Regions from separate parts of the Homo sapiens genome. Here all the other regions are linked to region 4. Evidence: promoter capture Hi-C in 16 types of primary human blood cells and fetal thymus (Javierre and others, 2016). All regions are on one chromosome and are shown on one strand. Each heading gives the region's core, a stretch centred on a gene start or on the middle of the fragment in contact. The rest is flanking DNA. Distances are from core to core; before and after follow the strand shown.

Region 1 (6,945 bases), core at 162-2,661, 150 kb after region 4:
AGATATGTTTTAGCCCCTTGTCTTCCCAGAGAAGGGAGTGGGGTGGGTCTTGGTATTGACAAAGATTATCTCCTCGACCAAACTTTAGACAGGCTCTTTTGAGCCCTCTTTTTTATGAGGCCTCATTCTTGGCTCTGTCTTCAGCCTGCCAAACCCAGTTTTAGCAAGAATTCTGGTAAAGTCAGTTTATTGAGAATACCCCACATTTGATAGCTGATCACCCTCAGTATCTGATCAAATTCCTCATCACCTGCCCTCAATCTCTGATGACCCTGGCCTTCCTCCAGTGGGAATCTTAAGTCAGTTTAGCAGGAATCTCCCTGCTATGGTGTGAATATTTGCCTGCTCCAAAACTTATGTTGAAATTTGATCCCCAAAGTGGTGATGTTGGGAGGTGGGGCCTAGTGGAAAATGTTTGGATTATGGGGGAGCACCCTGAAAAATAGCTTGCTACTGCTCTGGAGTTCTTGCTCTCTAGGCTGGATTGTTTCTTGAAGGAATGGATTATTTCCCCAAAGGGTGGGTGTTATAATGCCAGGACACCCCTCAGGTTTCTCTGTCTTCCTACTTGTCCACTTCCCCTTCATTGCCGTGTTGTGATGGAACACAACAGCTTTTGCCAGAAGCCAGGGCCATGCCGTTGAACTTCTCAGCCTACAAAACCGTGAGCTACATAAACTTCTTTTCTTTATAAATTACTCAGCTTCTGGTATTCTTTTATGGCAACACTAAACAGATGAATACAACCCCCAACCTTTGAATACTCCTTTTAGAAATTTTCCATCCACCAAGGCCCGTATCCTGCTAATTGGCTATTAATCTCTAGTTTTCTTTGCTTCAGCAAAGAAACTTCAGAGTTGAGCCCAATGCCTCTCCCATATTGCAATATTGTTGATACCTATCAAAATAGTCCTGATTACAGTCTTTTTGCCATTTCAATAAGTGTCAATAATTTTTTCATTAACAGTATATTTAAATGTGTCTATGTTTAAAAAGCTTCACAAGCAAATCTAATATAGTTCCATGGTTGAAAATTCTGATAGACACTGGTTAAGAGTATGGATTCTGGAATGCGACAGACCTAGTTTCAAATGCCAACTCTGCTTCTTGCAGCTGAGTGACTAAGCAAATTACCTAACCTGAGCATCTCTCTTTCTCTGTTGTCTCTCTCTCTCTCTTTCTCTCTCTTTCACTCTATCTCTCTCAAGTTAGTGAAAAGATCCAATGAAGGCCCTTAAACTACTAAGCACAGTACTAGTACCCAACAGGCACCAAATTAACCAAATATTACTGGCTCTAAGTAATAATTATCAAAGGATGGATATGTTACATTCAATAAGAAAGTTTTACATAAGGAAAAGATAAAATAGGTGATTTATTTTGTAACTGTGAAAACTATGTTTATTTTGAATACAAATCTTGAATTATCTATGGATGAGTTTGAAATAAATCATAGAAGAGAATCACTTTTTGGATTTTTAATCCAGGTCCTTGTGTGTGTATGAAATACACACATATCTTCCTTATTAGTCATGGAAGGGCAAAAGTGGACCAAAAACAGGTCAGCTAAGACAGGCATGTCTGGCTTCTGGGCTGTAGCTCAGCATGTTGTAGGCTAGAGTCCAGTGACCTTCACTGGCAGGCTGCCTACAGTCCATGAGACCCTAGGCAGTCAGGCACTGAGCTCTGTCCTCCAGCTGAAAATAATGAAGAGCACACGGCTTCTCCCCGGTCATCGTCAGGGTGACTCAATCCTGCTGGAAGCCCTGAGGGCGCACATGAGAGAAATGCTTTTCAAGGGAGCCAAACTTGATCTATAAGCTTATCTCAGGGTATAGTCCAAATAACACTTATGACTCCAAGCATAGGCAGCCATGCTTACTACTCTCTAAAGAAGCCAGTACTTCTGATGAGGAATTGAAAGTCAAGATGGGAGCTCTGCTTTTGTATCCATTCCCCATAATAGAGTTCAGCTTATATGTTAAATGAATTTTCACATAAATTTGTCCACTTGAACTTCTGCTTCTTTTTGATAGTTGCCTAGAGATGGTTCTGGAGAGTAGGTTCTTTTCCCATCGTGATCAGCAACTGCTCTTCAAAGTACAGGAGCTGGTCCACTTCAAAACAGTCGCTGGCTTGAGGCACCACTTTTTCCAAACACTCGCGGATCTCTGCTTCGCTAGCATTCTGATGCCTTGCTCTCTTGAGGTAATTATAGACCTCTTCAAATACTTCTGTCCCCAGCTTCTGCATGGCTGATCTGTCAAAAAAGTTACAAAAGATTACAAAGAGTTACACATTAAGATCACCTGCAGGAAAATGTGCTTTTAAATCATTGATTTTACAAACATTGTCATTCTGGGATTTAGAAAAAAAGGGGGAAGAAAAGGCACAATATCTCCACCCTAAACATTTAACAGTATTCAACAAATAATGCCTCAATGTCTATTATGTGCCAGGTACCCTTCAAGGAACTGGGAATATAGCAGTAAACAAGTTAGGCAAAGTCCTGCCCTTGTGTGTGTATATATATATAATACACAGATATACACACAGATGTGTTTATATAAACGTATGTATATATACACATATACACATAAGATATCAGATGGTTCTAAGTGCAATGAAGAAAAAGCAGGGTGAGGCGGACAGGAAAATCCTTCTGAGGAAGTGTCATTTGAGCAAAAGCTCTCAGGAAGTAAGACAAATACTAGGGGCAAAAGAATTTTGGCCCTAAGGCTAAAACATATTGGAAAAATAACAAGAAAGCTATTGTGGCTGGAGTTAGTAGAACAAAGGGAAACAGGATGGTGGGATATAAAATGCAGAAATAGTTAATAATAACAAAATAATAATGAGGAGGAGGAGGAGGAAAATGAGGGGGAGAATAGTTTTGTTTGCCACTTGCCAGGTCCTTTTCTACTCACTTTGCCCTTTCAATCACACTTAACCTTTACAACAGCTGTACGAAGGAGGCAATTTTTTAAATCCCTATTTTACAGATGAAGAAACTGAGGCTTAAAAGGGGTAAAGTTATTTGGCCAAGTTTCCACCAAGGCCGACATTCATTTTTTCCACACTTCCAGTGATTGTCCATATGTCAACATAATCTTTATGTTATAATCATATTGCCATATCTAGTATGTTTATTTCACCGTTGACTATTTTCCTCTATCTCCAGAAAGGGTCACAAACTAAAGACCTATGGGCAACATTTGGTCCATAACATGTTTTGTTTTTCAATACCATGTTTTATCTTCCTTTATTATTTTTAAATGTTTTAATGTGAATGTCTTTATGTGGGGCCTGCAAGCACTCTGTACTCTGCATTTTCTGACCGTCTTTGACCTACCTCCCCTATCTTTTATCATCTTATACCAGGCTCCTTCTCATAGTTCTTCTACCCACTTAACTCAAGGGCATTCAAGTTGGTGGATTTTGTTTTGCGGTTCTTCACGGTTGTCGTTTTTAATGGCTCCATATTGTTCCACTGAATTTATGTGCCAATATTTACTCCATTTTCCCTTCACCAAACAATGAGCTTTTTTTTGCTCCTTTGCACTATAACATAGTGTGAATACCTCATCTTTAGATATTAGGCTTTTACATTTTAGGGGAATATTTTATGACATCAAATTTTTAGGAGTTGGGCTATTATGTGTGTGTTCACTCTAAAAATTTATATGTGTACTTATGGTTTCTGCACTTTTCTCTGAAGAACAGAGAAAAGAGTAAATATATGTTGTGCTTGATTAAATGATAAAAATGTTATGGGAATGAGATTATTAGGTCAAAGTGTATAAATATTTGTGTGACTTTAACTTGAAGAAATATTACTTTTTCTTCATTTCAATGGATTTGGTAAAAAGAAAAACCAGGATGTGTATTTTTTTTTTTTGGAGATGAAGTCTCTGCACTGGTGTGATCTCAGCTCACTGCATCCTCTGCCTCCCAGGTTCAAGCGATTCTCCTGCCTCAGCCTCCCGAGTAGCTGGGATTACAGGTGCCTGCCACCACGCCTGGCTAATTTTTGTAATATTGGTAGAGATGGGATTTCACCATGTTGGCCAGGCTGGTCTCGAATTCCTGACCTCAGGTGATCCCAAAGTGCTGGCATTACAGGCCCACCTTGGCCTCCCAAAGTGCTGGGATTACAGGTGTGAGCCACCGTGTCCGGCCTTTTTTCACAATTTTTGAAGCATTAATGCTTAACAGTAATGATGGTAATGTTGATAATAACATTGGAGACATTAGTCACAGACTCATTCATTTTATAAGCTTTTATTGTTCAGTGTTATTCAAGCTTGTAATCTCTAAATCATAGGATATGTGTTACGTATTGTGGCCGATAAAGAGATGAATAGGTAATTCTTCTAGCTCTGGTTTAAAGGCTGGTCATGACAATGCAAGACATAAATTTTTAATTTTAACTAACATTTCTATAGCCCTTTAGAGCTTGCAAAGTGCTTTTGCATTCATTATTTCAAATGCTCCTTATGAACTAGGCAATTCATTGAACATTTGTCTTCATTTTACAGATGAGAATAAGCAGGTTTTTCGTAGCCTTTCACAAGCTCACACAGTTAGTGTGGTAGAGTTTGGACTCAAATGCTGATCTTAAAACACCAGATGCTGGAGAAACCAGCAGCCCTAGGCTCCACAATAAGTTTCCCACCTTCTGTCATGAGATTGTCAGGACTGATTCCAGCATGCCTAACATCCCTAGTCACCTCAGTCACCCCCACAAAATCCAGGTGTTTCTTTTGCTGACATCTACCAAACCCTGGTCATTCTCTTCATACACTGATTACTTCAGTGACTAGCCCACTCTTTCTTCCACCTTGTACTCTTGTCATCATTCTTAACTTCTGTATTCTTGCTGTCTCTGGTTTTGAACTGCCTCGCATTCAGCCATCATTTCTTTTACCCTACCTGAGTTGCCCATTCCCATGATCATATCAATTGACCTCATCAGTGCCAATGACTACATGACCTCTGAAATTGATTTCAAGCCTCCTACTCTCTAATCACCCCCTCAATGCCCTCCCACCATACTTACCAGCTAATCTTCCACTTCATGGTGCCCTTCACTTCGACTCTACCCCCATGATAATAATTACTCACTTCTTTTGTAACCTCATATACTCACTCCTCACCTACCTCCTCACAGTTAATTTCATGGCCCATCATCATAACCATTATCTCGCAAATACCTTTGACTTTTTCCACCCCTTTCCCTTTGTTTGGCAAAGACCTAATGGTTAAACTCAGTCGTATACCTACTCCATGGCTGTACCCAAACAAGAGAATATTTATGGAGAAAAGCATCCAAATATACCAAGTCTCTCATTTAAGATGATAATCTTGATTCAGAATGGCACTCAGCACTGCCCAGCAATCTTACCGTGTTTCCCCAGTATGTTTATTTTCCTCCCAAAATGACTACTTCAAATGTTTTCCTTTATTCTTTTAAAAAATATTTTATTTTTGATTTTTAAATTTTATTGTGTATATTTGAGGTTTACAACATGATGTTTTGGGATACATATAGATAATAAAATGGTTACTATAGTGAAGCAGATTAATATATCTATGACCTCACATAGTTACTTTTTTATGACAAGAACAGCTAAAATCTACTTATTTAACAAAAATTCCCAATACAATATAATTTTATTAATTTTAGTCCTCATATTGACATTAGATCTCTAGACTTGTCCATCCTACGTATCTACTGTTTTGTATCCTTTGACCTACATTCCCTCATTTCCTCTCCCCTACCAACCCTGCCTGAGGTAACCGTTGTTTCATTCTCTATCTCTGTGTACTTGAGCTCTTTTTTTTTTTAAATATTCCATATATAATTGAGGTCATGCAATATTTTTATTCCTATGTCTGGCTATTTTTCACTTAGCGTAATGTCCTCCAGGTCTATCCATGTTATGGCAAATGACAGGATATCCTTTTATAAGGCTGAATAATATTCCATTGTATATATATGCCACACTTTCTTTATCCACTTCTCCATTGATAGACATTTAGATTGTTTCCATATCTTGGCTATTGTGAACAATGTTGGAATGAACATGGGAGATATCTTTATGGGGTGGTATTTTCTTCTCCTTTGGGTATATACCCAGAAGAGGGATTGCTGGGTCATTGGTAGTTATACTTTTAATTTCTTTAGGAACCTCTATATTGTTTTCCATAGTGGCTGTACCAGTCTACTGTCCCCCAGCAGTATATATTAGGGTTCTCTTTTCTCCACACCAACATTTGTTATTTCTTCTTTTTGATAACAGACATTCTTAGGGGTGTGAGGTGATATTTCATAGGTTTTAATTTGCATTTTCCTAATGATTAGTGACCCTGAGCACCTTTTCATATCCGTTGGCCATTTTTATGTCATCTTTGGAGAGATATCTGTTCAGATCCTCTGGCCATTTTAAAAATTGAGTTATTTGGTTTTTTGCAGTTAAGTTGTAAGAGTTTTTATAAATTTTGGATATTAACCACTTATTAGATATGTGGTTTGCAAATATTTTTTCCCAGTCTGTAGGTTGTCTTTTCCTTTGTTAATTGTTTCCTTTGCTGTGTAGAATCTTTTTAGTTTTACATACTCCCATTAATTTATTTTTGCAAAAGATCAGAATAAAAATAAATAGGGAATAAAAAACATAGAAAAAAATTAATCAAACCAAGAGTTGGTCATTTGAAAAACAAAACACAATTGACAAAGCCCTAGCTAGACTATGAAAAAAAGAAAAGATGCAAATAATAAATCAAATCAGAAATAAAAGTGGAGACATCACAACAGATGCATCAGAAATAAAAAAGGATTATAAGGGACTGATATAGTTTGGATATCTGTCCCTGTGCAAATCTCATGTTGAATTGTAATCTCCACTGTTGGCGGTGGGGCCTGGTGGTAGGTGTTTGGGTCTT
Region 2 (6,571 bases), core at 748-3,247, 140 kb after region 4:
CCTAATTGGGGGAAGACAGGTGCATGCAGATCCCCACTCAACACACACACACCTGAGTGCCCAGCATCCTACTCTAAACTGAGCATCTCAGAGCTCAGCCTTGCTCTGCCCTTCTGCTGTTTCCTTAACTTGCTTTTTCACACCAAAGTGAATGTTTACTTCATACCTTCTGAGAACATGCTCCACCCACAGCTAGCTGATAGTCTCACTTCATTTCACCAAGAAGAGATTCAAATTCTATCATCTTCCCATCAATTTAGCCATCATAATCCTCTATGCGTGCCTCATTCCTGTTTTCCTTGAGCCCTGTTACGCTGCAGGCCTGTCCCTCCTCCTACAAAGGTCCCATCCCTCCTTTTTTCTCATGGACGATGCCTCTTCAGGGGTCCTCCTCCTGATCACCCTCCCATCTGTTTCCTCTTGCCATCTTAACTGTTGCCATCAACATCCACATGCCCTGTCTCCCACCTTAAACACTCCCTGACCCGACAGCCCTCTCTAGTGATCACCCTAAGCCCCTTTAGGGCCAGCTTGTCCTACCTTCTGCTCCCTCATTTTCCATTCACTCAACCAATTGAGTCTGTCCTCTATGCCACCCTTTTTGAAATTGTTGCCATCACGGTCATCAAACCCTCATATTACTGAATTCAGTGTACAGTTCTGCCTCCGTTCTACCTAAACCCTCACAAGCACTCTGCATAGTCTACTTTCTAAAAGCAGCTTTCTCTCCTCCTCTTCTCCTTTTACATGCCCTGTCCCTCTGCCCAAACTCTGGGGGTTGGGCTTCCTCAGGGCCTTGTCCTGAGCACTCTTTTTCTCTCTTTATGGATCACCTCACCCAGTCTAAGTTTTTCTATCACCTTTATGCAGACAAATCACAAATTTGTCTTAACCTGCCCAGAATGTCTTCCTTGATCCTGTCTCTTTCAAAAGCTTATTCCCCCACCCACCAGGCTTTCCCTACATCCTCAATATCAACGCCTTAAGACACAAACATAAAAGTCATCTTTGAATCTTCTTTCTTCCTTACTCCCTTCCTCCCACAACCAGTCCATCAGTAGGTCTTGTCAATGCCACCACCAATATCTCACGCAATCACATCCTTTCTGCCCATCTCCACTGCCCCTCCCTGCTCCAGATCACCACCATCTGCCATGTAGCTATGTGGCAGCTCCCTCTGTCTCCTCCTTCCTCTACTAGCCCTTCCAGTCCGTGTTCCACACAACATCAGGAGTGACTTCCCCAAAGCATACTCCAAGCCCCTCACATGGCCTGTGAGGTCCTATCTCATCAGACTCCCACCTACATCTCCACCTTGATCTCCTCTTACTCTGGTGTGCCCACATGGCCTTTTCCATTTATAGACCATACTTTAGTAGGTTAAAGTTGACTACCAGTTATTTGCTAGTCCTCTGCCCTATTCCTCATCGCCCCCATCAAGAAATGGAGTCTAAAAAAATATTCCATGCAAGTGGAAACTAAAAGAGATTAAGGGAAATCTACATATCTATATGTAGATATAATTACTTCAAATAGACTTAAAGTCAAAAACTGAAAAGAGACAAAAGAAGATCTTTATATAACCAGAAAGAGGTCAATTCATTAAAAGGATATAACAATTATAAATACGTATGCACCCAACATCAGAGCACCTAAATATATAAAGCAAATATGAATAAATCTCAAGAGAGAGACAGACTGTAATACAATAATAGTAGAAGACTTTAATACCCCACTTTCAGCAATGGACAAATCATACAGAAAAAAAGTAAATAAAACATCAGACTTAACAAATTTAGTGATATTAAAATCATATCAAGTATATTTTCCAACCACAATGGCATAAAACTGGAAATCAATAACAGGAGGAATTTCAGAAAATTCACAAATACATGGAAATGAAACAACATGCTCCTGAACAATCAATGGGTCAAAGAAGATATTAAAAGGGAAATTAAAAATTACCTTAAGATAAATAAAAATGGGGACACAACATACCAAAACCTATGTGATGCAGCAAAATCAGGTCTAAGAGGGAAGTTTATGGGATTAAACACTAACATTGAAAAGAAAAATGACCTAAATAAATAACCTAAGAGTACACCTCAAGGAACTAGAACAAACTAAGAACAAACTAAGCCTAAAGAACAAACTAAGCCTAAAGTTAGAAAAAGAAAATAATAAAGATCAGAGTAGAAATGAATGAAATAGAGACTAGAAAAACAATAGGTCAATGAGACTAAGAAGTTGGCTTTTTGAAAAGATAAACAAAATTCACAAACCTTTATCAAGACTAAGAAAAAAGAGATGATTCAAATAAAATAAAGAGGAAACATCAGAACTGATACTACAGAAATGCAAAAGACCACCAGAGGCTACTGTAAACAAGTATATGCCAACAAATTGAATAACCTAGAAGAAACAGATAAATTCCTAGACACACATAATTCTACCAATACGGAATCATGAAGAAAAATAAAATCTAATCAGACCAATAACACGTAGATGCATTAATAAGAAATGCTTTCCCATAAAAGAAAAGCCTAGGACCTGATGGTTTCATTGCTGAATTCTACCAAAAATTTAAAGAACAATTCCTCTCAAATTCTTCAAAAAACTGAAGAAGAGTAAATACTTCCAAATTCATTTTATGAGGCCAGCATTACCCTGATGCTAAAGCCAAAGACACTACAGGAAAAGGAAACTATAGGTCAATATGCCTGATGAACACAGATGCAAAAATCTCAAACAAAAAATGCTAGCAAACTGAATTCAACAGCACACGAAAAGGATCAGTCACCCTGATCAAATGGGATTTATTCCTGGGATGCAAGGATAGACCTTGTCAACAAATGCAAATCAATGTGATTCATCCTATTAACAGAATGGATAAAAAACATGTAATCATCCCAATAGATACATCTGATAAAATTTAACATCCTTTCATGATAAAAACTCTCAACACATTAGGTATAGAAGAAATGTACCTCAGCATAATAAAGGCCATATATGACCCACACACAGCTGACATCATACTCAATGGTAAAAAGTTGAAAGCTTTTCCTCTAAGATTATAAATAAGAGAAGGATGCAACACAGTACTGGAAGTCCTACCCAGACTTGGTAGGTCTTCCAAGACCTTGAAAGCCAGGTGGGGTGGCTCATGCCTATAATCCCAGCACTCTGGGAGGCCAAGGTGGGTGGATCACCTGAGGTCAGAAGTTGGAGACCAGCCTGGCCAACATGGCAAAACCCCATCTCTAGTAAAAATACAAAAATTAGTTGGGCATGATGGTGCATGCCTGTAGTTCCAGCTACTCAGGAAGCTGAGGCAGGAGACTTGCTTGAACCTGGGAGGAGGTTACAGTGAGCCAAGATGGTGCCACTGCACTCAATCCTGGGCGACAAAGTGAGACTCTGTCTCAAAAAAAAAAAAAGGAATTGAAGAAGACACAAATAAATGGCCCAACAAATAAATGAAAACAAATCCCTTGTTAATGAACTGGAAGAATTTATGTTGTTAAAATGTCCATATTACTCAAAGCAATCTGCAGATTCAATGCAATCCCTATCAAAATTCCAATGACTTTTTTCAAAGAAATAGAAAAGCAATTCAAAGATTCATATGAAACTACAAAAAAACCTTGACTAGCCAAAAAATCTTAACCAAAACAACAAAGCTAGAGGTATCACATTGCTTGACTTCACAATATATCATAAAGCTATAGTAACCAAAACGGCATGGTACTGTCATAAAAACAGACACACAGACCAATGGAACAGAATAGAGATCTTGGAAATAAATCCACACATTTATGGTCAATTGATTTTCCACAGAGGGTAAGAATACACAATGAGGAAAAGATAATCCCTTCAATAAATGGTGTTGGGACAACTGCATATTTCTGTGCAGAAGAATAAAATTAGAACCTTATCTCATACCATATAAAAAATAAACTCAAAATAGATTAAAGACTTAAATGCAAGACCTGAAACTGTAAAGCTACAGAAAACAGGGGAAAAGCTCCATGACATTGGTCTGGACAATGATTTTTTTGGATAAGACTTCAAAAGCACAGGCAACAACAACAAGAATAGACAAATGGGATTATGTCAAACTAAAACTTTCTGCACAGCACAGGAAACAGTCAACACAGTAAAGGGACAATCTATAGAATGGGAAAAAATAACTTCAAATCACACAACTGATGAGAGGTTAATAGCCAAAATATATAAGGAACATGAACAACTCAATAGCAAGAAAACACATAACCCAATTAAAAATGAGGCAGATGACCTGAATAGACATTTCTCAAAGAAAGGCAAATAGGTGTATGAAAAAATGCTCAACATCACTAATTATTAGGGAAATGAAAATCAAAACCACTATGGAATATCACCCCATATCTGTTAGAATGGCTATGATTAAAAAGATGAAAGGTAAGTATTAGAGAAAATATGAAAAGGGAATGCTTACACAATATTGGTGGAAATGTACATTAGTATGGTCATCATGGAAAACAGCATGGAGATATTTAAAAATAAAGAACTACTATATGGTCCAGGAATCCCATTACAGGGTATTTATTCAAAGTAATTGAAATTAGGATCTGGAGAGATAGCTGCACTCCCATGTTCACTGCAACACTATTCACAATAGCCAAGATGTGGAATCAACCTAAGTGTCCATCAACAGATAAACAGATAAAGAAAATGTGGTATATATACACAATGGAATACTATTTGGCCTTAAAATAGAAGAAAATTCTGTCATTTGTGACAACATGGATTAACCTAGATGACATGTTAAATGAAATAAGCCAGGTGAAAATACCACATGATTTCACTTATATATGGCATCTAAAAAAGTTAAACACATAGAAACAGAGAGTAAAATAATGGTTACTAGGGGTTGGGGGTAGGGAACAGTAATTGAGAAGATATTGATCGAAGAATATAAAACTTCAGTTAGGAGAAATAAGTTCAAAAGATCTGTTGCACAAATGGTGACTATAGTTAATAAACTGCATTAATTTGTGAAAATTGCTAAGAGTAAATTTTGTGTTCTTACCATGAAAGATGATAAATATGTGAGGTAATGCATATGTTAATTAGCTCAATTTAGCCACGCCACAATGTATACATATTTGAAAGCATCATTTTGTACACAGTAAACATAGGCAATTTTTATTAGTCAATGTTAGAAAATATTTTTTAAAAAACTATGTAGTTTACAAAGCTTAAAGTATTTGCTATCTGGCTTTTAAGAAAATGTTTGCCCATCCCTTCCCTGGAGTCTTGGAGAGCAAGGATGGCTCTCTATACCTTTTATAGTACCTGGCATTTAGTAGGTACATATTAAATATCTGTTGAAAGAAGTGAAGAGCCTCAAGGCCCAGCTCTAACTCCTCTTTAATGGGAGGCTCTTTTTTTGGAAGGGCAGGGCTAGACAGGTATGGGTCAGTTCTCTTCTGATAGTCCCAGAGTCTACAGCGAACCAAAGATGAAAGCTCTGAAGGAGAGACACCAGTACTCACAGGTCTCATGTCCATGCTCCGTCCAAGGGGACCTAGCTACTTCCTTACCCCTTCTCAGTTTCAGGAGAAGAAAAGTGTTGGAGATTGGTTAAGACCCTTTCCCACCAATTGCTGTGGTGAACCCTCCAGCAAGGGCATGGCTACTTTCAGGAAAGCAAAGAGGGTCCTCTGCTTCTCTATCCTTCCCAAAAAACATGGGCTGGGGTAGACCCTAAAGAGCAGGCATGGAGGACTGTGGGAAGGACTCAGCCTTGCTGTAGAAGCTCTCTGCAAAGCAAGAGGCAGGGTATGGTAACAAATGCCAATTCCTGGTTAAATTGGACTTGACAGGTGAAAGATGTCAGGCTGTGTGTGGTCACATTGTACATATGCATGCCTGGGGGTTACCAGGCTGTATGCAAATATACAAGGAAGAGGTAGGCTCTGAGAACCTGCCAGGGCCCCTGGGATGAGCTGTGGATTTTTGCCCCTGATCCCATGAATTGGAGGGTCCTCTGCTCAAAACATATGATATACATGTCTTCTTTTAATTTGGTATCGTCTTTAGGTCCGGAAGAGAAAACATTCCCTTCCTTGTACCAAAGTCCTCAGCTCAGGTTCCCTGAGTCCACAGAGGGTTGCCTCAGACGAACTGGGATCTGAAGTCCTGAGAAAGCACCAGCTTCCACCACTCCCAAGTCCTGGAGGGTATCCAGTAACTGCTCCCAGGCAGCACCAATAAAGCAATTCTCCAGAAAGATGGGCAGGCCTCCCACACCATCATGCAGGGTACAGGGGCACTCACACCAGGCCCAGCACCTGTAAAAGGAAGGAGACAGGAGACACTGGGACTCCAGGTAGCTCATGTCACTACCTCCATCCTCTCTTTAGCAGATCTTTCTAGAGCAGATGCCACAACTCTTAATACTCCAGCAGAAACAAGCCCAAGGCTCCTATCTAAAGGAGGCCCAGTGGGCTCAACCCTCTGCAGACAAATGACCCAAGACATGCTATCCAGCTCCATCAATGTTAATCCTTATGACTTCTGTCCCCTA
Region 3 (7,107 bases), core at 3,928-6,427, 250 kb after region 4:
CCTCCTGACAAGAATGTCTTCTCTTGCCATTTTTATATAACATTGTACTACAGGTTATAGCCAGGGAAATTGGGCAAGAAAAAGAAGTCAAAGGAATCCAAATTGGAAAGGAAAAAGTAAAATTATCTCAATTTGCGGATAACATGATTTTGTATATAGAAAATCTATGTCCTATAGAATATGATAGGCATATTCAGGTTTTCTATTTCTTTTTGTTAAAAAAATTATTTGTGTATTTATGTTTAGAGACAGACTCTTGCTATGTTGCCCAGGCTGACTTTGAACTCCTAGGCTCAAGTGATTCTCCCACCTCAGCCTCCCAATAGCTGGGACTACAGGTGCACATCCCTGTATTCAGCTTTCTATTGCTTCTGAGTCAGTTTCAGTGATTTTTGTCTTTCTAGAAATTTGTCCATTTCATCTAATTTATCTGATTTGTTGGTATACTGTTGTTCGTAGTATACCTTTACAATCCTTTTTATTTCTTTAAGGTTAGTAGTAATGTCCCCTCTTTCATTTCTGATGTATTAATTTGAATCTTCTCTTTTATTTTGTTGGTCAATATTTGTTGATCTTTACAAAGAACCTATTTTTTTTTGTTTCACTGACATCCTTTATTGTTTTTCCATTCTTTATTTTGCTTATTTCCACTCTGATTTTTGTAATTTTCTCCCTTCAATTTGCTTTGGCTTTAATTTGCTCATCTTTTTCCAGTTTTTTAAGCCATATATTTTATATGCTCAATAGGTGGGAGTTAAATCAAAAGCAATATAAATAGTAGCTGTGATTCTTAACCTATAAAAATCTTGCAGTCAATTAAGAAGATAGGCTATCTATACAGATGATCCCTAGTAGTACTATGGAGTACATATACATAAGACACTATACTATGTATGGGGCATGCAAAGAGGTATAATGAGGTCCGTGGAAAAAGCAATAACCTTCAAGTTAGGGGACCACAGTTATTCTTTTAGTTCTCTCACCAGCTCAGGCCACCTCCCTGGGTCTCACTTCCCTCATTTTATATTTCAGTAGTTTCATTAGACTGAAGGCCTTCCCTCAATTCTAACATTCTGTGATCTAAGACATAGGTCAGGCATAGCATTTACTTGGGAAGACAATGCCTATGCTAACAAAGATAAAGAGCAATCAAAGGAAACAAATGCTAAGAAGCAAATGGCTGGGACCAACAGTAAATGTTATGAGCATTATGTCAGGCAAAATCATCCTGAAGTCTCTCTTCTCATCTGTGAAATATAGAATGATGAGGATTATGACACTTGACAATATCCCATGGGGATGTTTTGACAATGAGATGAAAACAAAATGATACGAAGACACATTTGGCAATTGGATGCTGTGTTTCCTAAAAGTGCAAAGCACAGCTCATAATAGTAATATTGTCAGGATTCCTCCTACTTCTATGGTCTCTCACCAGCAAAGTTATTTTCCCTGAAGGAGTGACAGCTTGATAATTCTGACATTTCACCAGCAGAGAGTTTCTTCTCTCATTTCTTTGAAAAATTTCTTCTAAAATTTCCCTTTACCCATTTCAGTTGCTGGACAAATGACCTTGATCATAAAAGAAAAAGCTGTGTTTGCCCTCCCTGCTAAACACCCTGCCATGTGGGTAATAAAGAGCTGATGCAGGGACCACAGAGGTGGATATTTTGGCAAACAAGATCTCACTTAAGCACCTGAGACATTGCTTACTCAGGAATCCTCACAGACACTGCCCTTGGTGCACTGTACATTTAGAATGCTTCTTACCTAATCTTTAACCCTCGTCTTGCTCTGAATTTCCTAAGGAATACTTAGGAAATAGCAGTTACTTGACTGATACCACTCTTTGCCAAATTATTGCAAAAGTATATCCTCATGGCTCATATTTCTCCTCCTACTCCTTGGAATGCGACATGACAGAAGATTTGCCTAGATCAAGGTCAGCAAACCTTTATCTGTAAAGGGGCGGGTAGTAAATATTCTAGACTTTATAGACCATAGAATTTCTGTTGCAACTCAAGTCTGCTTCAGTAGCATGAAAATAGCTATAGGCAATAGGTAAATGAATGAGCATGGCTGTGTTCCAGTAACATTTTATTTACAAAAACAGGCAGTGAGACAGATTTGGAATGCAGGCCATAGTTTGCTGACCTCTGGCCTAAATGATAGAGATTCATCATGATTCTGAGCTGGATGTGACCCTAGAACACCTCAAGTCAAATTTCTTCATCTTACAGGTGTGAAGACTCAGGCCAAGAGAGGTTTTATGACTTGCACAAGGTCATAGAAAGGGGCAGAGCCCAGACTAGAACTGTGGTTTCCTGACTCCCAAATGAGTGCTCTAACATCCCATAGAAGTGCCACAACCAAATAACGAGTTTCATGTGATAATTAAAAAAAAATAAGATCATCAGACAGAACTTCCCCTCTAAAAGGTTGAAATTTGGGGTGATCATTATGTCTTCCATCTCATTTCTCCACCTCTCCAGATGACAGCCCCATGACTTATTATGAGGGGCTGTGAATCAGCAGGGCACTGTGAAAGCTGCTCTACTCTGCTGAGAGGCTTAGCTGACACAAACTTGGTGAAGATTTTTCCTTGAGCTTCTCCTGTGACAATAGTGGACATCAGAATGGCAACAAAACTGTCGAAGAATCTGCAAAACAGGGTAGTCTCTGTACTGCCTCACCTCAACACCTCAACACCCCAGAAATGGAGATGCACTATGCAGATCCTCCTTGAAGGAAGAACTTGCTACCCCAGCTGTTGGGAGTAGACAGCCTCCAGCTGTGGCCCCTTCAGGAAATTCTTCAGCCTCAGAAAGCTGCCTTCCCCCAAATCATGCCCCTCCAAGTAGCAACCTTTAATGACTGATCATGGTAGAGGTAGAGAACCTAACCATTATGGCCTTTGCTGGCAACACCCATGGGACTGGAGCTCTCTGAGGGTTTGGCTAAGGCTTGTCAGGCCTTCATCACTGCTCAACTTCTCCCTCTGCCTCATCCTGCATCCTTCTCCTTCTGTCCACAGGGTCAATCCCAAGGGCACTCATGCATAAAAGTCCTGCCTACTCAACTCTGTCAGAGACGGCTTCCTAGAAAACCCAGCCTAAAGGTTGAAGTGGATAAGGTTGAGGGCATGGAGATTATTGTCTTGGTTCCTTTAATAAGTTGGGTATTTGATAAGAGCAGTATTAGAAATAATGACATGACCATTCCTACCACTTCTTGTCCATCCCCAGCTCTTTCAGAGAATTGATTTTATTGGTACAGGGCAGAAGCCACTGCCAAAGAAGTTGTTGTCAACCCTGTGGCATCAGCGGTGTCAATGCCAAACCACATTAGGATGCTGGAGTAGAAAAGCACAGGAGGAAAAGGAAGAAGATGGTCTAGGAGAGAACAACCTCAAATGCTTTCCAGTAGGAAGGGAGCTGGGGCATATTAGGACAAGTATGTGAGCTGGCTTAGAGGACTTGGGTTTGAATCTTGATTCTGTGATGTTTGGAAAGGTAAAAATCTGTGACTCAGTTGCCTCATTGATACAAAAAAAAGAATCCTATCTTCTATGGCTCTAGTAAAGCTTAAATGTATATTAAACTTATATATAAAGGTACATTATTGCTACAAAAGACCCAAGGCAAATTTACACTACCTCCCCATGATGTCCACCACAATGCTTTGCATGGAGCAGCTTCTCAGTGTATCAATAGGACTCCACTGCCTACACCAAAATTAAATAGTTGGGAAAAAGTGGATCAACTTGGGAAAAGCAAACTTGCTACTTATAGGAAATATGATAAATACCAGAAGATAGAAAATAAAATATTTTTATTATGGTTATTTCACACTGCAAATATTCACCTGAATTTTATAGATGATTAAAAACAACAAGAGTTAAGGAGTTTGGAAATTCTTGTTTCCTTTTGAATACACCAGGAAAAACCTCTAAGAACAGTAGCTACCAGTAAAAGGAAGAGACGAAGTGTCTGTTTTTTGGATTGACATTCAGTAATTAAATGTGGATACAGGCTAAGATGAGATTTGTGGAAGCCAGACCCTAACTTTTTCATTTGTGCTTTCCCTGTGGAGACACTAGCCAATGTTTGGGGAGTTTAATTATTCTTATCTGCCAACATGAAGAAATTTAGCTTTAAAAACAAAACCTGCTTTTCTGTAATAGGAGGTTGATCTGGCTTCAAGACTGATTCAAATACTTAAGGAAAGTGTATCAGCAGTACTTCCTTCTCTTTTTTTAAGTTTTTAAAATTTTTGTTTTATTTTATTTCAATAGTTTTTGGGGAACAGGTGGTTTTTGGCTATATGGATAAGTTCTTTAGTGATGGTTTCTGAGATTTGGGTGCACCCATCACTAGAGCAGTGTGTACTGTGCCCCATGTGTAGTCTTTTATTCCTCACCCCCTCCCACCCTTCCCCCTGAGTCCCCAGAGTCCATTATATCATTCTGCCTTTGTGTCCCCACAGCTTAGCTCCCACTTATAAGTGAGAACATATGATGTTTGGTTTTCCATTCCTGAGTTACTTCACTTAGAATAATGGCCCCTCTAACTCTATCCAGGTTGCTGTGCATGCCATTATTTTGTTCTTTTTTATGGATGAGTAGTGTTCCATGGTGTATATATATATATACCACATTTTCTTTACTCATTGGTTGATGAACATTTATGCTGGTTCCATATTTTTGCAATCGCTGCTATAAACATGCATGTGTAAGTATCTTTTTTCATATAATGACTTCTTTTCCTTTGGGTAGATACCCAGTAGTGAGATTGCTGGATTGAATGGTAGTTCTACATTTAGTTCTTTAAGGAATCTCCATACTGTTTTCCATAGTGGTTGTACTAGTTTACATTACCACCAGGATGCGTTCTCACTTTTCATTAGAATGTGAATCCTGACAATTGCGGGGGAAGCATGTAGCTCTCACTATCGTCAGCAGAACAGAAGATAAATTGAAAAATGATTACCTGGTATCATGTACTCCTTAGCTTCTATGAAAGCCAAAAGAGGAGATGTTTCCACAAGACACCGCAAGGGCCATCTCTCCTTTCACATCTCTAGTTATTCCTAAAATTCTATCCTTACAACAGTGGAGCTCATTAATATAGTAAATATTTGTTATTTTTGGCCTTACATTCTCATTTCCCTTGTAAGGGGAATCTTTTACTTTGTGAGACAGAGCCTGGCTCCCATTAAAGCCATGAATGCCGAAGACTAACTTACCAGTCTCCCATGTAATTAGGGTGTAGAAATATGACCAGCCTCTGCCAGTAAGATGAATTTGGCTGGACATGGTAGTTCACATCTGTAATCCCAGCACTTTGGGAGGCTGAGTCAGGTGAACCACTTGAGCCCAGGGGTTCAAGACCAGCCTGAGCAACATGGCAAAACCCCATCTCTACAAAAAATACAAAAAAAAAAAAAAATTAGCCAGGCATAGTGGCACATGCCTGTAGTCCCTGCTGCATGAGAGGCTGAAGCGGGAGGATTACCCTGAGCCCAGGAGGTCAAGGCTGCAGTGAGCCATGATTGTGCCACTGTACTCCAGCACAGGCAATAGAGTGAGACCCTGTCTTAAAAAAAAATTGATAATGAGAAGAAGCAGAGACCACATGAAGTCCATCCAGGCAGGTTTGCGGTAGGAACATCAGCCACATCCAGGTTCCCAAGGCAGCAATATTGGTCAGTCTAAAAACTGTGCCCAGTATCTAACATTATTATCCTTGAGGACACTCAAGATTCTCTGTGGAAAGGCCAATTTGGAAGGGATCTGAGGCCAGCTGTGTGAGTCATCTGGGAAATGCAATCTCCAGCCCCAGTGAAGCCTTCAGATGACTGTGGCCCTGGGTGATAGCTAACTGCAAACTCATGAGAGACCCTGAGCCAGAACCATCCAGTTACGCCCTCCTAAATTCATGACCTACAGCAACTATGAGAGGTAATAAATGATTATCATTGTTTTCAGCCCATATGTTTTTGAGTAATTTGTTATGCATCCATAGAGGACCAATATAGGCATTGAGCTTTTATGGTAGGTCAGGATAAGAAACAAATACATAAAAAATATTTCTGCATTTACCTTAAAACCAGTTTTGAAATCACTATATTGGTGCATAGTCTTTGTAGAAGACCTATGTTAGAGTAAGTTTTTAGAACTTAGGGTTAAAAGATTAACTTTGAACAAATTAATTTCTTAAATCTCTTAAAAATGTTTTAAATTTTGTTTTCATTGACACATAATTATTGTATGTAATTATGGGATACAATGTGGTGTTTAGATAAATGTATACATTGTATAAAAATCAAATCAGTGTATTTAGCATATCCATCACCTTATACATTCATCATTTCATCGTGGTAAGAACATCCAAAATCTTCTCTTCTAGCCATTTTGAAATGTACAATATGATATTGCTAACCACGGTCACCCAACTGTGCAATAGAATACCGAAATTTACTCCTCCTATCTAATTTTAACTTTATACTCATTGACCAATCTCTTCTTATCTTCCTCTCTTCTCTCCTTCCCAGCCTTTGGAGACAAATTTAACTGTTTATTTAAGCAAAGAATGATTTATGAATTGGACAGCCCTCAGAACCACAAGAGGTTTGGAGAACTCTATTCTGCAGGCAAGCAGCATTTATCGATAGAAAATGGAAGTGAGGTATAGAACCAGCTTTATTGGTTACAGCTGGGCATTTGCCTTATTTGGACATGGTCTAATCAGTTGGCAACCCAAGGAAAGCTTTACAGAGAAGTAGAAGGTTTGTAATTCTGGTGTTTGTGAGGGCAGGGCAAGGTTGTGTTCACTGAAATATTCTCAGAGGCCAACACATAGTATGGCATACAACTTTTTTTTCAATAATCACTTAATGAATGAATAGAAAGATAGAAGTAGAGCTGCCAAGCAGTCGGGAGGGGAAGCATTCTCTAGAAAGGATCAAGCAGTGTGAAAGCTCAGAAGTGTGAAACAACTGAGTATATTCATGGAAATATCAAGAAGTTTGGTGCTACTGGAATGTAAGGTGTGAGGAAGGGATTGATGAACCTAGATGTATAGGGCCAAGGCCAGAAAAAAATCTTGT
Region 4 (6,543 bases), core at 4,044-6,543:
GGGCCCACCCAGATAATCTAGTATAATCTCCACATCTCAAGGTTCAAAACTCTAATTACATCTGCAAAGTCCCTTTTGTCACGTAATAAAGGACATTTACAGATTTCAAGAATTAGGACGTAAACATTTAGAATAATGTGACTATTGTGGCTGGGCGCAGTGGCTCACACCTGTAATCCCAGCACTTTAGGAGGCTGAGGCAGGTGGATCACGAGGTCAAGAGATCAAGAACATCTTGGCCAACATGGTGAAACCTGTCTCTACTTAAAAAAAAAAAAAATACAAAAATTAGCCGGGCATGGTGGCGGGCCCCTGTAAACTCAGCTACTTGGTATGCTGAGGCGGACAATTGCTTGAACCCAGGAGGCAGAGGTTGCAGTGAGCCTTGATCACGCCACTGCACTCCAGCCTGGTGACAGAGTGAGACTCTGCACTCCAGCCTGGTGACAGAGCGAGACTCCATCTTTACAAAAAAGAAAAAAAAAAAAGAAAGAATAATATAACTACTGTTTTCTACCTTCCAGAAGGACTTTCACTTAGAAGACTAGAAGGGACCTCAGCTGGACAGATGAACAGGCAGAGAGGTGAAGTGATTTACTCTGTGTCGCACTGCTAGTTAAGTTTAGACCTGAGATTGAATCCCAAGTCTCTTGGCTCTGAGTTCACAGCCATTTTTAGAATGCTGCTACCCAAAATGTGGTCAGCACTGACATCATCTTGAGCTTCTTAGAAATGCAGACTCTCAGATCCCACCCTAGACCTAATGAATCAGGTTCCGCATTTTAGCAAGATTCCCAGGTAAATCTTGTACACATTCAGGGTTGAGAATCACAGGCTTTCAACATCACGTGGGCTCTGAAAAGCCTCCAATGAGGTTGCATAGGAATTGAATGGGTGAATATCTCAAGCAGTTCGGCCTCATCATTCTCTCTTGAGACCGACGGATTCTGATCTAGACTGATGAGACGCCTAAAGATGCAGGCTTAGCACTATCATCATCAATCTTTGTTGGTCTGGGGCATCCTCTGGATGCTGAGCTGAGTGTTCCAATAATGTGCTATGCAGCTTTCTCTTCTAAGGACAGAGGCAGTACAGCAGATCAGTTAAGCACTTGGACTCTAGACAGCCTGCCTGGCCTCAACTCCTGTCTCCACCACTTACTTAACAAATGTAAAGTTTGTGCACTTGAATGACCTGCTCATCGTCTCTGTGCCTCAGTTTCCATATTTGTAAAATGGGGTTGAGACTAACAGTACCCACTTCACAGGTGAGGATTAAATAAGTTAATATATGGAAAGCACATAGATCAGTGTCTGCCACTTAGCAAAAGCAATGCAAATGTTAGTTATTTATCATTTTTCAGGGAATCCCTAGGCCTCCTCTAAGTGGAATCAAAATCCTAAATGAACTCAGTCTTTAGAATTTCTCCAGATTCTGTATCTGTAAGGCTCAGAGGGGTAATCCTGATTATGATTCTAGGTGGCTAGAGTATCCACTGGTTTGGAGCTATACTCTGGCCATCAAAACTACACTGGCATTGGGAGGAAGACCAGGGAGGAAGAGATGTCCTTTTGAAAAGCATTGGTTCCCTGGCATGTGATGCTACATTGTCTGTTGCTAATATTTTTTCTAAGTAATCAAAGAACTTTAAAAAATGGACATTGGTATAATTACATTAAGTTTTGAAACCTTAAACCCAGATTACTACATGGCCATACTGCTTTTTTCTATTTTTTTAAGGCTTTCTTCAAGCCAAATGAATTTTAATTCTGATCATCTCTTGGAACCCTAAAGTCTGTGGGCTTACTTGGGAATTTACAAATAAAAATTATGTTTTAAAAGCAATATATTAAAGTTACAAATTGTGATTTGGCCTTACTGAAGGACATTGAAGCAGAATTCATTCTCTTACTGAATGAGTATCTGTGGATTTTGCAATACAGCCTTTCAAATTTTCTATTTCAGCCAGCAATGAAATCTTAAAGTTCAAAAATCTCTTAAAGTTTATTTTATCTATATCCCCATTGAATGCTTGACTCACTTTCATAACATCTTTACTGATTTTAAAATATGCTAGATTCTCACAACTTGAGAAAAATGGAGAAAAAAAAGGATAACTTAGTAAATCCAAACTCATTGTTTAAAAGATTTCTAATTTCAAATATAAGGTATGTTATAAACTAAGAGACAGCATAAATGAATACTAAAGTGGAAATTACCCAACACAAAATTTACCATCTTGCAATAATCCAACTATACAGGATATATCACAAACATTATAAGAGCTAATGGTAGAGCCTAATGGCAGGAACACATATAAAAGATTATTTCCAGTGAACTCTTGCTTTGAAATCTGCTCCTTCTATGATGATTCTCTTGTATTGAACATGGCTTTAGTAATTCAAAAATGAATCTATTCCTAATGTTTTATTTAATAAGAGAAGGTTTATGAGATCATCTGTTGGTCTGAATTAGCGGAGTAAGAGTTATAGAACTGTACCACTAAAAAGAGAAAGTGCAAGTTATCTTCGTTCCAATAAGGAATTGAAATCTTAGAGAGGCAAAATGGCATTACAGTTTCAGGGTCTAAGGCAGTGTCTGAAGGATGACATCAGAAATAACAGGAAGCTCTAGGTCAGTGCCTGACTGCCCTAGAAAAGCCTAGGCTGGGTCCCTTGACAACTGGGCCTAGTAGCTGTCAGCAGCATATTACAGTGACTAAATCAAGTATGACACCACTCAGCCCTGGCTGGCAATCAGGAGACACATTTTTTACGACAGCAGACAAACCATGTTTTACTTTGATTCAGTTCAGCGGTGGTGCCTGCTGTCAAGGTCCTCCTTATGGACTAGGAGATATTTGGTACTATGGGAAAAGGTTAGACCAAATGGCTACCTCTTCAATCCTCACTGACCACTGCGTGTGATTACTTACCGATTTTCCTCTTTAGCCTTAAAGAAATTCCAAGGCAAGAGTAGTGACATATTTGTCATAGAGAGCCAAAGAAACAAAATGTCTAAAAGCATAAGCTCTATCTATGGTCACAGTCTTTGGCTCTACCAGTTAATAGCTGGGTGATTTTATTTAAGTTATGTAATCTCTGTATGCCTATTTTCTTAACTGTAAGATCCAGATAATTATACTATTGTCACAGCAGATTGTCATAACAATCAAGTGAGAAAATACACTGAGAGAGTAAAAATGAATACTATTAGTAACTGGACTGCAGTGTTTATAGCAGAACATCAATACAATATTTCTTTTTTTTTTTTTTGAGACGGAGTCTTGCTCTGTCACCCAGGCTGGAGTGCAGTGGCTCAATCTCGCTCACTGCAAGCTGCGCCTCCCAGGTTCACACCATTCTCCTGCCTCAGCCTCCTGAGTAGCTGGGACTACAGGCACCCGCCACTACGCCCGGCTAATTTTTTTTTGTATTTTTAGTAGAGAAGGGGTTTCACCATGTCAGCCAGGATGGTCTCAATCTCCTGACCTCGTGATCCACCCGCCTTGGCATCCCAAAGTGCTGAGCCACCACGCCCAGCCCATCATTACAATATTTCTTACAGACCGTACTGTAGGCCACACCACTGCAGCAAAATGACTAACAGTTCCTTATTCTGAGTGATTCCTGCTTTCTTATGAACATCATGCCCACTTCCTCTCTGTTCTTCCTGTCTCTAGAACAAAGACTATCAAGATATCCAATTGCTGAACTGTCCTTTCTTCTTGACAGCACCCATTCTAAAACAAGTTCCTGCTTCTCTGATGCCACTTTAAAATCACTCAGCCTTAAGTCCAAATTTCATTTCAAGCCCCTCCCAGGTCACTCTTTTGGAAACATCCTCAGACATATGCTGTCTTTTGCTGCATCAAGCTAATTAAACTTGACTTTGTATGAGTTCACGTTTTCTTCTAGTAGCCTTGGCTTATGGGCTTCCACAATGCTGAGCACATACTCTAGCACACTATATGGATAAGAAATGTTAGTTATTGGCAGTAGTACAGAAATCTTCTTATTCTCAACTTCTTGCATGTAGCACACCTCAAAACATGTTTGTTCAATGAAGAGCCATCCTTAAGTATCTGGGAAGCCAGGCAGCATGGCTAGAATGAAGAGATGTAGTTTTTCCTTCAAGGTCCAAAGTATTATTGAAAAGTGTCTAAGGTAACTGCAACAGCAATGAGTGGAATGAATGGACAAGCAAAGCAAAGATTTTTTAGCCCACTAAAGTCCAAGTAATGGCCAGGAATTGACCATTGTCTGGACCTGTTAAACCAAGATAGCCAGATCTCTAGTAAAAAGAGAAGGTTGAAATAGCTACACTTTAAAGTTCTTATTTCCAAATTTCTACAAACAGTAATCTGACAAATAAGGGAATTAGTAGAAGAATAAATGTCCTAGTCACATACATGGTTATTAGGCTAGATCTGGAACCCAAGACAGGGGATTTTTTGTGCAGGTGTATTAGCTATCTATTATTGCATAACAAATTACCCTAAAGCTTAATGACTCAAAAAAACGGTAATCATTTATTTTCTCTGGCAATTTCTCCTAGTCAGTAATTCATGAGCGGCCTGGCTGGGAGATTCAGGCTTAACGTCTCCATGAGTTGCAGCCGAGGACTGGTGGATCCACTTCCTAGGTGGCTCAGTCATGACTGGCTAGTTGATTCCTCTTTATATGTTCCTCCCTGCAGAGCTGTTTGAGTGTCTGCAGGAAATGAAGGCTAGCTTTCTCCACAGGGAGCAATCCAAGAGACAAAAACTGAAGTAACAATATGTTTTATGATCCAGCCCTAGAAGGCATACATCATTTCTATGGGTGTAGTCTATTGATAACACATGCCAACCCTGTTTCAGTGCCAACTCTGCTCCTCTGCCAGATGTGTTGTTTTGGACCAGCACCTAAATTCTGAGTCAGTTTCCTCATTTATAATAGAAAAATAAATACTTCCTTTCAGGACCGTTTTTTATGATTAACAAATATAGGATTATGAAGCGCTGCTTAGCATAATGCATTGCCTCACAACGGGCACTATTTAGAAGTGTCTTCATTTTCCTTAGCGTCCTCAGGAAGTCTGTCCTTATTCTTCTAAAGTTTAAACTCTGAACATCCCTTTTATTTTACCCCTGGAGAGGCGAGTCAGTCCCTTCCCACCCCTACCTACTCCAACTCACATCCAAAGTAGGACAACGGTGGAAGCAGAACTATAGTTTCCGGGGAGCGACTCGAGTGCCCGGAGTTCATTGTAAAACGCACCGGAAGTGGGTCCGGCGGCTTTCTTTCCGTCGCAGAGAGCATCGGCCGGCGACCGTTCCGGCGGCCATTGCGAAAACTTCCCCACGGCTACTGCGTCCACGTGGCGGTGGCGTGGGGACTCCCTGAAAGCAGAGCGGCAGGGCGCCCGGAAGTCGTGAGTCGAGTCTTCCCGGGCTAATCCATGCCGGGTTGGAGGCTGCTGACGCAGGTCGGCGCCCAGGTGCTGGGTCGACTCGGGGACGGCCTGGGTGCTGCCCTGGGCCCGGGGAACAGGTAGGAAGGTGTGAGGGTGTCCTACCTGCACAGTTGCGTCCTGAAGCAGTGGAATGGCCTGGTGCAGTTGGGCCTCCCCTGGGTGGAGGAGGAAGGGGCTCTGTTGAGACGTGGGACACAGAAGAATAAGGGCCGTTAACCTAAGGAAGCACGTTCTAAGGGGATTGAAGTGGTGATTTTTAAAAAACGCTTATGAGCCAGCCACTAGCAGCGAACGCTATTAACAGCAATCATATCTTACAATTAGTGAGCGTTTGCCAGGTACTAAGCGCTCTGCTAAGTGTATTAGGTGCCTTATGTAGCCTCACGGGAGCAAACTGCTATCATAAGGTTTACAGATAAAACTGAAGGTTAGGGAGGTGAGTTAATTTGCCCAAAGTCACTCAACTAATAAGTGGAAAATTAGGAATCTAGCCTGAATTTATCTGACTACAAAAGGAGAGTAGACTGCAGAAAGCTTTACTTCTGTTCTGACCCTCCATGCAAGAATTACACCCCTTCTTCCTGACCTCCGCCCACTAAGGTCTTTCTTGGTATGTTCACCTGTTCAGAGGTCATGCCTTTTGTGGATCTTTTAACTTTGCACACCCAGTTTCTTCACTTCTCTGAACCTAGGCCATGTCATTGCAGGGAGGAGGTGAGCTTGTTAGACAAAGATCAACATGCCACCTTCTGCCACCTCCACTGAATGTAAAACTATTAAGGTACACTTCCAAATGGGTTAGTGGCTTTTCATGTCTATAGGTAGGACTGTTTTTTGGGGAATATGTTTATCTGCGAGGAGAAGATGAATTTTTTTCTCCAGGGTAACGACTAACAGTTTAAATGTGAGCCTTATCCGAAGGAATGTGGGGAGTGAGGAAAAGGTTGGAGACCTGAAAAAAAGGTATACAGAATCCAAGCCCTTTCCCAAGGCCCTGACTACACTTTCCAATTTGTGACTTCCCTTTTCTATATTAAGTGGAGGAAGTTTTTAAATTGTGGTTTGGTTTTATTTATTTTTTCTTTT

What was found. The method cuts DNA at HindIII sites, captures the fragments that hold promoters and counts their contacts. A CHiCAGO score of 5 or more calls a contact.
Region 1: a fragment that was not itself captured here is called in contact with the fragment with the promoter of MRPL3 in region 4 in 1 of 17 cell types (monocytes); the score reaches 7.1 in monocytes.
Region 2: a fragment that was not itself captured here is called in contact with the fragment with the promoter of MRPL3 in region 4 in 1 of 17 cell types (monocytes); the score reaches 7.9 in monocytes.
Region 3: a contact is called between a fragment that was not itself captured here and the fragment with the promoter of MRPL3 in region 4, in 1 of 17 cell types (neutrophils). The highest score is 5.1, in neutrophils.

Annotation. Positions count from the first base shown.
Region 1 is chr3:131,344,872-131,351,816 of GRCh38, reverse strand. It overlaps NEK11 (NIMA related kinase 11), which reads right to left. Exons shown (of 18, transcript NM_024800.5): 18 at 1,352-2,260. The coding sequence ends at 2,041. All of the region lies in intron 2 of NUDT16-DT (NUDT16 divergent transcript), which reads left to right. Among named protein-coding and RNA genes, the nearest start is that of NUDT16-DT, 33 kb to the left of the region's middle. The HindIII fragment of the contact is 825 bases long and covers 999-1,823 here.
Region 2 is chr3:131,363,120-131,369,690 of GRCh38, reverse strand. The region is part of intron 2 of NUDT16-DT (NUDT16 divergent transcript); the gene reads left to right. It also overlaps the pseudogene NUDT16L2P. Among named protein-coding and RNA genes, the nearest start is that of NUDT16-DT, 15 kb to the left of the region's middle. The HindIII fragment of the contact is 2,124 bases long and covers 936-3,059 here.
Region 3 is chr3:131,255,493-131,262,599 of GRCh38, reverse strand. All of the region lies in intron 16 of NEK11 (NIMA related kinase 11), which reads right to left. Among named protein-coding and RNA genes, the nearest start is that of NUDT16-DT, 120 kb to the left of the region's middle. The HindIII fragment of the contact is 3,184 bases long and covers 3,586-6,769 here.
Region 4 is chr3:131,501,721-131,508,263 of GRCh38, reverse strand. It overlaps MRPL3 (mitochondrial ribosomal protein L3), which reads left to right and starts at 5,293. Exons shown (of 10, transcript NM_007208.4): 1 at 5,293-5,534. The coding sequence starts at 5,443. LOC105374114 (a long non-coding RNA gene) reads right to left here and starts at 5,665. Exons shown (of 3, transcript NR_189111.1): 1 at 5,560-5,665. RefSeq lists enhancers at 5,395-5,464, 4,971-5,657. The HindIII fragment of the contact is 1,488 bases long and covers 4,506-5,993 here.